4 separate regions of the Homo sapiens genome follow, and all the other regions are linked to region 2. Evidence: promoter capture Hi-C in 16 types of primary human blood cells and fetal thymus (Javierre and others, 2016). All regions are on one chromosome and are shown on one strand. The core of a region is centred on a gene start or on the middle of the fragment in contact, and the rest is flanking DNA. Distances in the headings are between cores, read along the strand shown. Region 1 has its middle 11 kb from the start of LINC03082. Region 2 holds the start of RAB20 (RAB20, member RAS oncogene family). Region 3 overlaps ANKRD10 (ankyrin repeat domain 10). Region 4 has its middle 5.1 kb from the start of PRECSIT.

Region 1 (2,700 bases), core at 76-2,575, 420 kb after region 2:
TTGGTGTTTGGGGGTCTTTGCAGGCCAATGACTGGGTCAGGTTCCAGGCTGCAAGCTTCAATTCACCTTCTATAGGTAGAACTGTTTTTGCGGTACTATTCAGATCTGTCCTGCATGCGTGCCCACCAACGGCCTGTCTGGGTGTGGGCAGTGTGGGCAGTTTTCAGTTTGGTAGCTGTTTAGAGTCAGATCCATGCACGCGCACATCAAAGATGAGTCCAGGAGTCCATGAACAATTTTACTGGATCTCCTTCCCTCATTCCACCGTCCCACTGAACTCCCCATTACTTTTCAGAGCCTAACATTCCTCTTGTTGACTCCTTGTTTCTAAAATTGTGTCTTTACTTACTCTGCACATAATTTCTGTGGCTGCAGCCATATCTGGGCTAAACAGCAGGAGAACTGGAGAAAAAATATGGTAAAATTGTCCTGCTTTGGTGGCACATCTAAATCTGGTTTTCTTCCCCAGTCTGTCTGCTACCGTTCACTGACAGAGTCCTCTAATAGCTGCTCCATGCACTCAGCAGGAGAGACAGGCTGGGGTGGCCTGCTAAACTTTACCTGGGACTGGCACCAGCCACAATACAGAGTACTTGTTTTGATGGTTTTAAGTATGATGGTGATAAATGGAAGAGAATGAAACGGTTCAACTTTGGTCATTTAAAAAATCTTTTCACTCTCTTTTCTAAAGCTTGAACATACCATAGTCTACCAATTTAGTTAACCATCATTCATGGGCTTTTCGATTTTAATGGCTGTATGCTGGCTCTTTCCATGCACTTTTTCACTCTAGCTTACTGGACTTTAAATTACATGCATTAGCTTGTACTCATTAGGGGTACCATCGCTTTTACACCAGAATTCTTAAAGCCTAAGACTCAGTGCACCCATCCTGTATCTGAACCCAAGAGTCATTTTGTCGTCCTCATGAAACTAGACAAATCTGAGTTCAGATGCTGACTCTGCCACTTACAAACTTGTGACCTTGGGTAAGATATAAAACCTCTCAGAGATCTGCACAAATTAGGTCATTTTTACTTGTAATTCTTCCAAATCAGAATCATAGACTGAGAAGGATTTACAAAAAAAGAGAAAACCTGTTTGGCTGTATCACTTATCATCCTTTTACTCATTCTCTGCTTCCTTCCATCTGTTCCTTCCATCTACTCATCCATCCATCCATCCATCCATCATCCATCCACCATCCATCCATCCATACATACATTCATCTGTTCATCCATCCATCTATTCATCCATCTGTTCATCCATCCATCCATCCACTGATCCATCTCTTCATCATTCATATTCTGCGTGCTTATTATTTCCCAAGTACTAGGTTAGGTACAGGATAAATGGAAATCGATAATGTCGTCCTTAAGAAGTGTTGTGCAAAAAAAAAAAAATAATAATTGTGGAAGAAACCTGTAATTTGTCAGGTTAAGGAATTAAAAAGGAGTTATGCAATAGATAGGGTGAGGTTGAGGGTTGGATTACAAATGGAATAAAGGTTGCCCACATCTGAGTGTTGCCTGGAAGATTAAATGAGAAATATGCAAGACGAAGTGCACACGGCATCTCTTCCTTCATCCAGGCCCCGAGTGAGGTCCAGGGATGCAATGTCACGGCATAGCCCCTGCCTCAGGAGACTTTATACCAATGTGGATTGTTTCTGCATTCTCCTTTACACGTGTGTCTAAATCATTCTGAGGATAATTTTGTGGTCAACTTCATTTCTACCTGAATGACAAATTCCCTATATTCAATTCCCATGATGCAAAAATAGCATTTAGTTTTATTGGGCCTAAGATGATCTCTCTGCAATATTAAAAGGTGTCCCCTAGAGTAATTTTTAAGTATCTGAGGTTTTGTTAAGATCATTCTTTTCATAATTCATATCTTCTTTAACCTTTGTTATTCCAGATTTAAGAGATGTTTTCAAGTCGTGTTCTCAGAAGCTTCTGATCCTTATCCTTCTGATCATTTGAGTTATACCTGTCTGACTCTACTATGTCTCCCTGCTGCTTTGATAAAAGACAATTTCACATACTGTGGAGGTCATCAGTCAATCTAATGTTTATTAATCATCCCCTCATTTCACATGGCTTTCTCTGGACCCCTTGGGAGGAGACAAGGTAATAAATCCTATCCTCCATCCCAGGTTCATGATCATTTGGATAGACAAGGTATATATAGAGAAAATATTTAATAATTAGAGTCCTGAAGGAGGGACTTTGCAGTGAACTTCAACATCTCAAGCCTCCTTCTTCTCCCACTTCCAAACCACCCTGAATCACGCGGGAGAAGTGAAAATATCTTTTAAAGACATCAAGAGAAAAATATTTCACAAGCCTGTTCGATAACTTTCTGAAAACACTCATTGTTCAGGGTGCTGCTTAAATGATCTTTCTGCTTCTGCCGGTGGCAAGGCCCCTCCAGCTCTGAAAGCATGCAGAGGACAGCCCATTGTTCCCTTAACGCCTGAGCATCAATCACCTGGTCACCCAACACTCAGCCAGCTCTGCGCAGAATGTTTCTAAGTGATTTTGACTGCAAGACTTTTCGCCATTGGGTCCACGTGGGAACCTCTCCCTCTGGCTCTCCTTACACCTCCACATGGGTGGACACATGGCCCCGGCCTCTGGAGGGATGGAGAGGGAGGGTGCTTCTGGAGAGAGGAGATCTGATGGGGCTGGGGTCTCT
Region 2 (2,756 bases), core at 1-2,500:
ACCTGACATGCCAGGGCTGAGCAGGTACGAAATACCTTGGCATTCCTGCCTTGTCGGAGTCTCAGGGCACCTACGAAGGAGGCAACGGGCCTATTTCCCTTTACAGGACACCTTCAGGACACGGGTTTTAACCTGCTCAGGGTCTCATCGCCTTTCCCAGCCAGGCCAGCGGCCAGAGTGACACTGTCCCCCAGGGTTTAACTTAGAGTCCATTCTACCTCTCATTTTCTCTAAAAAACCCCAACCAACCAACTAACCAAATTCTACACGCTGCATATTTTAAAAGCATTTCAAGGTTTATCCTTTAAAACGGAAGGAGGACCTGGGAGGCCGAAGCGGGTGGATCACGAGGTCAGGAGTTCGAGACCAGCCTGGCCAACATGGTGAAACCCCGTGTCTACTAAAAATACAAAAATTAGCCGGGCATGGTGGCACATACCTGTAATCCCGCCTACTCGGGAGGCTGAGGCAGGAGAATCGCTTGAAACCGGAAGGCGGAGGTTGCAGTGAGCCGAGATCGCGCACTGCTCTCCAGCTTGGGCAACAACAGCAAAACTCCGTGTCAAAAATAAAAAAAAAAAAAAAAAAAGAAGGAGGAAATATTTCTCAAGTAGCGACTGCAACTTCCATAGTCAAATTTTCATTCCAAGCTATAAATGGAGATGACTGTCCACTTTTCAGGACAAAAAGCTTCTTGCAAAAGTAGAAGAGCAAAAGCAAAATCCTCCACTAGAAAGCGCCCCCATCTCTAATCTGTAACAGTGAGAGCCTCAGGACGAGTTCCGCAGACGCTCATTTAAAGCAAACTTTTTCAATGACCTTGAGGGTGGCTGTACTTACACGCGGAGAAGCAAATCGACCGCAGCTGGAAAGGCGCTGGGTCGAGCGTGAGAGGAACACGGGTTTTACCTAAGGGAGAGTGGAAGAGAGAAGGGGGTTCCCCAAGGGCCCCGGCCCCTTCGCCTCGTTCGGGCCCCGCGGCCAAGCTCCTCGCACCGCAGCCCCGGCTGTGCAGAAGCGGAGGGGCGGAAGGTGCTCTCAGAACTTTCATTTTCCACCCTGCAGCAGTCCCGAGCCTCGGCTGGAGAACTCGGATGCTTGCGAAACGGCGAGGTCCAGCAGGGGCGGGACGGGGGCGGTGGGCGGAGGAGGATAGGGCGGGGCCGCGGCGGTGAAAGGGCCCGGGGGCGGGGGCGGGGGCGGGGCGAGGCGAGGCCGCCGCGGTCCGGGCCCCCGACGTGGGCTCCGTGCTCTGCACCCAGCTCCTTCCCGGGCGCGCACACGCGCTTCCTCTCTTGAGCTCCCGGGCGTCCGGAGGCGAAGGTCCCGGAGCGTTCACGAGAATCCGGGTCCCGGCGAGTCCGGGGTCCGCTCCTCCAGCTGCGCCCAGGGCGCACGAGCCGGCCAGCCTCGGGGAGAGGGCGCGGGGGCGCTGGGGGTTCTTACGGGAAGATGAGGAAGCCCGACAGCAAGATCGTGCTCCTGGGGGACATGAACGTGGGGAAGACGTCGCTGCTGCAGCGGTATATGGAGCGGCGCTTCCCGGACACGGTCAGCACGGTGGGCGGCGCCTTCTACCTGAAGCAGTGGCGCTCCTACAACATCTCCATCTGGGACACCGCAGGTGAGGCCGGCGCCGCATGAGCCACACCGCCCTGGGGCTCCGCCGGGGACGGGGGGCGCGGGGCTTCCAGCAGGGCACCCGGCCGCGCACAGGGTCCCGGCCTCGGACAGCAAATGCCTCCTTCTCGGGGTTTCCCACTCGTCCTCCCTTGCTGGTTGGGCTGAGCGCTGCCTCTCAGCCACTCAGTGACCTCAGGGACAACCCAAGTTGCAGAGAACCCGCTGGTCATTTGTGTACCTAAGCTGCCTTTGCTCCCGAGCCCCGCGTTCCTGCTCTGCCGCCCTGGGAACCAGAGACGCTCCTCTGTGGCTGCTTTGTTAGGTATTTTCAGTTTTCACGTACCCGTAGGAACATGATATCCTTTGAGATTCACTTGAGGGGTGAGCAGAGCTGGTGTTATTAGCCCCTTTCTAAGAAAAAGTAAAATGAGGCACAGAGTGTTCCCCCCTGTTGGGTTTAGTCAGGAGAGAGGAAATAAAACTGGAGCCTCCGGACCTCTTAGCCCGGAGCATATCTGCCTTTTACAGTTAATCTTCTGCTTGATCTTGGCTCAGATACGTCATATGGGTTTGGGTTGGAGTGACTTCCGGTGGAAGCATTTTTAAGATAGGTAATGAGTTATTTTTATTGTGTAGTATTTGTGACTTTTCAAAAGTACAACTTAGAGGATCTCAATTCAGGCTTTCTGTTTAACTTTGGAAAATAACACTGGTGATTGTAGCATTGCAATGGAATATATTTCCTTCTCCTTACAAAAGAATAAGATATTGTAAGTGAATGAAGAAACTGGAAATAGTGTGACACATTTTCAATGAGTGTGAGTTTTTAGAAGCCTGAAACTCTGAAAGTTCTGACTTCTTTTATGTTAGCATCTTAAAAAGTCATATACCCAAAGGCCCCGTCCAGAATTCTTAAATTGCCATCTTGGGTGTATCAGTATGCTGAATAAACAAGATGATAATGAATTCTCTCTTTAAAACTGAATTAACGAAGCTCACAGAGGTACTTCCAGTTCTCCCCCTCCCTTTTGCCTTCTTTGATGCTTTTTTATTATTATCCCAGTTAACATCGTGACTAATTTATTGGCAATCATCTTGTGAAAACAATGTCCCCCAGGTAAAGAGGTGCATTT
Region 3 (2,700 bases), core at 192-2,691, 340 kb before region 2:
TTGCTGTGTCTGATTGCCTTTCCCCTCTCTTGCTTAGCTGATAGCCTATGAAGATGGTCTTTCAGGTTGTTTCATTCATGCAGTGTAGACCTGGGTTGACTGCTGATGTTCACAGTGGCTTTCCTGGGTCTGCTCACTTTTCTCTGCCTCTGTGTGTGCTTCACCTCCCCACCGCCGCCACCCCACCCCCTCTGCACTTTCTGAACCAGGAATTTCATTCTTATGAAGCTTGGTTTGCTTTACCTTTGTGTTCTTCTCCCTTTCCTCTAATAAATACTGAAAATAGATTGGGAATATTTAGTAAATATTCCCTCTAGTAAATACTGAAAAATAGATCAACTGTTGAACCTCAAGCCATCTTGTCTAAGTTGTGGTCCCACTTCAAGTTCAAAGCAGAAGATTCAAGATCGGCATTGATGATGTTGACTCGGGTTAGCATTGGGGTAGGCACAGAGGAAAGTGGGTAGCTGAGACCATATGTCAGCTATTATGTGCTATTTCTTGGCCTTGATGACCGTTTTAATGTGTGTGTGTGGTTGGTTGGTTGGCTTGTTTGTTTGGTTACTTATTCTGGGTTTATATAAAACACACGTGCTAAGATCCAGTGTAAAGTGATTTATAAATCACTGTTGAGAGCAATCACGCTGTCACTACTGGAGAGGCCCCAAGATATTTGGTCAACGACCAAATATCTTGGCCCCTCCTGGTTCGTTCTCATCCTCCATTCACGTATAGATTTCTTTGTGTTCTGCTTCAGATCTTGCTCAACATGTTTTACTTCAAAAAAGGATGAGAAGGTCTCTGATCTGTGTTAATGACATTACTTCCAAAATGTCAGAAGTTTTGTTCTAAGTATGTGTATATTTTGCTTTTTGTTGTTTCAGGATTGTGAGGGTGAAACTCCCATTCACAAGGCAGCTCGCTCTGGGAGCCTAGAATGCATCAGTGCCCTTGTGGCGAATGGGGCTCACGTCGAGTAAGTGTCTTTCGTTTATTCTTTCCAGCTAAAGATGTAGTTGAGGATGTTTTGTTTAAAGGCAGTACATAAGCAGGCAAAAGTCCTAAAACTTTGTTTTCAAAATTAGTAATGTAATTTTGCCTTTTAGAACAGTTGGTGTTAGTGAGGAAAATTGTGTGGATTAAATTGATCTCTAGAGGAGGGGGTTTAATTTCACAGCAGCCTCAATATTCTTGTCGAGAGAGTGTATTTGAACTGAAAGAACAGTTAACTAATTAGATTTGGAACTTGGCATCATTACTTTGCCACCATTACTTTGCCACTAACTAGTTGTGTCACTGTGGTCTTTAAACTTTTCTTTGCCTAATTTTGATTTCAAAACAAGAAGCTTGGATTGGATTAAAATATCTTTTCAGACCTCTCTGGCTCAGAAGGTTTCTGAAGAAAATTCACTTTTCTAGGTTTTGATTTCCACGTCTTAGCAGATGTGAGAAAGTTATGTTTTAAAGCCCATTGTAACTTAATGGTTGATAGTTCCTTGTAAAATATGACTATTTACATTAAAGACCTCAAGCTTGCTGTAAGCTTCTGGTACTGGTGGCATTATTTTTAAATATCTTTCGTTTTAGCCCAGCTTACATCAGTTAGCTTATTTATGCTTTGATAGGACAATCTTAATGTTTACGTGTAGTCTTTTAGAAATGAGATCTTATATGCAAATCATTAGCCATGGCATTATACATTTATTTTAGTTGTTACATTTATTTGTATTAACTTTTTCTTAAAAATTTATATTATAAAAATTTTTCTTCTGCAGTTCACAGCATTAACAAAATGGATGCGGTTTTCACCCTTAAATGTTGAGTGTAAGCTATAGAGCTATAATAACCAAAATAACCAATATCAGCTTTTTTGTTTTACCTTAAGTGTTATGAATAATTCATGAAAATTAATTATAAACCACATTATTCTAATCAGAAATGTGAACATTTAGACTTCGGAGGAAATAAAACCCACAAAACTAGTTTAACCCTTTGGTTTCCATTTCATTGCTTTGACTCTGTATTATATTGAAAATAGATCCTAGACAGCAAAACCATACAGGCTAATGCACGACGTGTGTAGGTACCGGAGGCTGTCAATCATCTGTGAATAGCTTAGCTTCTGTTTTGTTAAGTTTATTGGCAAGATTCGCCATTAGTTTGGGCTGTGATCCTTATATAGTGATCTGGTATTATAAACATGGCCTCTGTTTACTGTTACATTGCAGGGACTCTCGCGACTTCATGTATAGTTGTGACTAAAGGTAATGTAGAAACAATTGATAGTATGTTTTATATACTAGTAGAACATTGAGATGATTCTCAGTGGATTGCTTTAAAGCAAAGTTATTTGTGCATTTTTCTTAGCTGTAGTTAGATTTAAAACTCTAATTTTTATAACAAACTTTCATTATAAAATACGGAGTCATAACATGATTAAATTGCTTGTCATTTATTCAAACAGTGGATAATTAGAAGTTGATATTTTTAATGACTTTCTAAATAATACTCTAATTGGTCCTGAACATTTTATTACAAAGATGTTTTATTCATTTTATGGATAGCTTAATCTTTTCAGCCAATAAATATCACGATGTCCTTTTTTTTTAGTAGGTGTCTTTTAAAAAATGAGAATCTTTTATTTACAATTCTGTCCTTGGTTACAGGGCCCTCAAGTGTCTCTTTTCCACCAGGTGTGGC
Region 4 (2,700 bases), core at 198-2,697, 310 kb before region 2:
AAATTCTTTTAGCTTAGTAAAAACCCTAGAGGGGGCACTCTTGACCCTGGCTCAAGTTGGCTCCCACTCTGGAGGGTACTTTTGCTACAATAAATCTGCGCTTTTTTTGCTTCTTTCGTTGTTTACTTCTTTTGTTGCTTTGTGTGTTTGGTTCCATTCTTTATTCAGCTGCACCAGGAACCTGGACAACTCGCAGTCAAGACCTTCCATTCAGTAACAGTAGTTTCTTAAAGGCTAGTTGCAATGTTGAATCAGGATCCACATCAGTGAGCTTCTTGTATCGTTCCTGTAGAGTCCATCTTTCACTTAGAATGGACCTTTAACCCATGCATAATTTTTTATGCATTACTTGGGAAATATTTTTTAATTGAGTTCTGCAAGTCTTTCAAATGTTGAAACTTTTCATTAATATTAAAACATTGATAACCAGCCAGGTGCGGTGGCTCACGCCCGTAATCCCAGCACTTTGGGAGGCCGAGGCAGGTGGATCATGAGGTCAGGAGATAGAGACCATGCTGGCTAACAAGGTGAAACCCCATCTCTACTAAAAATACAAAAAAAAAAAAATAGCTGGGTGTGGTGGCACGCACCTGTAATCCCAGCTACTTGGGAGGCTGAGGCAGGAGAATCGCTTGAACCTGGGAGGCAGAGGTTGCAGTGAGCCGAGATCACGCCACTGCATTCCAACCTGGGCAACAGAGCAAGACTCTGTCTCAAAAAAATAAAACATTGATCACCAATAATCTCATGAAAGTCAAAAGTTGGAAGTTGTCAAGCTCATGGTACTGGATACAAGTTTTACAACATCCTGATTTTTGCTGAAAAACTCAAATTTTATCATTGGACACAAATACTGTCAGTTTTCCTTGAAGTAGAAGACTCACTTGGTTAATTTTTTGGTTTTTTTAAATTGAGACGGGGTCTCACTCTGTCGCACAAGCTGGAGTGCAGTGATGCGATTTTGGCTCCTTACAGCCTTGACTTCCTGGGCTCAAGGGATCCTCCTGACTCAGCCTTGGAGGTAGCTGGGACTCCAGTCGTGCACCACCATGCCCGGCAATTTTTTTTTTTTTTGGGGGGATGGGGTCTCACTATTTTACCCAGGTTGTCTCAAACTCCTGACCTCAAGCAATCCGCCCACTTTGGCCTCCTAAAGTGCGGGGATTACAGGCTTGAGCCACTGCATTACAACCTGGTTATTTTTTTTTTAATCACATAGCTTGTCAATCATTATTTCAAATGAAAATGACGTTTCTGAAAAAGTCACTGGATACACTTATCGCACAATCAGCCAGAGCCGTGCTTTTCCTGGAGACAGCTGTACACAACAAATCCTTCATGCACACTTCCCTTTACATCACAGAGAACGTGTGCTGTCAAAATTTACTCATGTTTACAGCATTGAGGGCATTCTTAAGTGAAATTGGGTTTTTTTCTTTTTTTTGACTGCACGGCAGTGAAGAATATGAAGGTGATCAGGCCGGGGCAGTTTTTGCTAAGGTGCTAGTAGCTTTACCCACCATTTCTTTTGAACCCTCAGTGCCGAAGTCAACACTGAAAAAGGCAAATCACATCTCGGTAATGAGACCGTTTTGATTTTGGGGACCCCCTGAAATGGGGTCCTGGGGACCCTGGGGTTCTGCAGGCCACAGTGAGAGAACTGCTGGAATGTTTTGAATGATGAGATCTAAGCAACTAGTGATAAATACTGGAAAATGTAGACTGGGTATTCATTGAATTACCCTTTTTGACTTTTCCATAGGTTGGATTTTCGGGGTTTTATTAAGGAGAAGAAAACGGGAGAATAATTTGGAGACAGAACATGGGAAACATTGAAGAGTTTCCCGGAAAGGGGGAGCCAAGAAACAGGCAGCGGGTGGAAGGGAGGAGCCCTCGGGAGGGCGGGAACCGGGGGCGGGGCGCCGGCGCGGGTGCAGGGACGAACCATCAGGAGGGCGGGAACCGGGAGAGAGGCGCAGGGGCGGGGAGAGGGGGGTGAGCCGGGCGGTTCTGGCGCGGCTCTGCTTGGGGAACCGCAGCCAAGGTTGGGGCGAGGCCGTGGTTGGGATGGGCCGGGGCGGGTGAGGGGTCCCGGGGCGGTGGGAGGGTAGCGGGGGCTGCGGCAGGGCACGGCTGGAGCTGGGGGCTGGAGGTGGACACCACCCCAAGAGTCTGCACTGAGCAACGGTAACAGTGAGCCCGGGCACAGCTGCAGCCAGGGAGACCCTGAGTGTGCGAGTGTGCGTGTGAGGATGTGTATCAGTGTTTGCAAATGCATGTGAGTGAGCGAGCATGAGGATGTGTGTCCATGTATGGATGTGAGTGTGCAAATGTGTGCGAGGACTGGGAGTGTGTGAGAGCGTGTCAGTGTGGGAATGTAGGGGGAATGTGGAGGGAAGTGTGTCGTTGGCAATGTGTGAGTGTGCAAATGTGTGAGAATGTGAAGGGAAGCGTTGAGTATTGGATGTGAGTGGTAATCTGGTGTGTGTGAATGTGTGAATGTTTATGTGTGAATGTACGTGATGTGTGTGGATGTGTATGATGTGTGCGCACGTATGAATGTTGATTTGTGTGACGTGTGTGCAGATGTGTATGAATGTGTGATGCATGTGGATGTGTGTAAATGTGGCTGCTGTGCATGTGTGAATGCTATATGTGTGTGACGTTTGTGACTGTGTGTGTGCAGGTGTGACTGTTTTA

What was found. The method cuts DNA at HindIII sites, captures the fragments that hold promoters and counts their contacts. A CHiCAGO score of 5 or more calls a contact.
Region 1: a fragment that was not itself captured here is called in contact with the fragment with the promoter of RAB20 in region 2 in 3 of 17 cell types (M2 macrophages, M0 macrophages and M1 macrophages); the score reaches 8.2 in M2 macrophages.
Region 3: a fragment that was not itself captured here is called in contact with the fragment with the promoter of RAB20 in region 2 in 4 of 17 cell types (total CD8 T cells, activated CD4 T cells, non-activated CD4 T cells and 1 more); the score reaches 5.9 in total CD8 T cells.
Region 4: a contact is called between a fragment that was not itself captured here and the fragment with the promoter of RAB20 in region 2, in 1 of 17 cell types (non-activated CD4 T cells). The highest score is 5.0, in non-activated CD4 T cells.

Annotation. Positions count from the first base shown.
Region 1 is chr13:110,138,805-110,141,504 of GRCh38, reverse strand. No RefSeq gene overlaps it. Among named protein-coding and RNA genes, the nearest start is that of LINC03082, 11 kb to the right of the region's middle. The HindIII fragment of the contact is 1,264 bases long and covers 694-1,957 here.
Region 2 is chr13:110,560,216-110,562,971 of GRCh38, reverse strand. It overlaps RAB20 (RAB20, member RAS oncogene family), which reads left to right and starts at 1,250. Exons shown (of 2, transcript NM_017817.3): 1 at 1,250-1,624. The coding sequence starts at 1,453. RefSeq lists silencers at 1,121-1,570, 1,462-1,651, 1,631-1,690. The HindIII fragment of the contact is 2,254 bases long and covers 693-2,756 here.
Region 3 is chr13:110,904,309-110,907,008 of GRCh38, reverse strand. ANKRD10 (ankyrin repeat domain 10) reads left to right here. Exons shown (of 6, transcript NM_017664.4): 3 at 885-976. Among named protein-coding and RNA genes, the nearest start is that of ANKRD10, 9.4 kb to the left of the region's middle. RefSeq lists an enhancer at 80-581. The HindIII fragment of the contact is 186 bases long and covers 1,349-1,534 here.
Region 4 is chr13:110,874,036-110,876,735 of GRCh38, reverse strand. No RefSeq gene overlaps it. Among named protein-coding and RNA genes, the nearest start is that of PRECSIT, 5.1 kb to the right of the region's middle. RefSeq lists a silencer at 1,848-2,067. The HindIII fragment of the contact is 4,114 bases long and covers 1-2,700 here.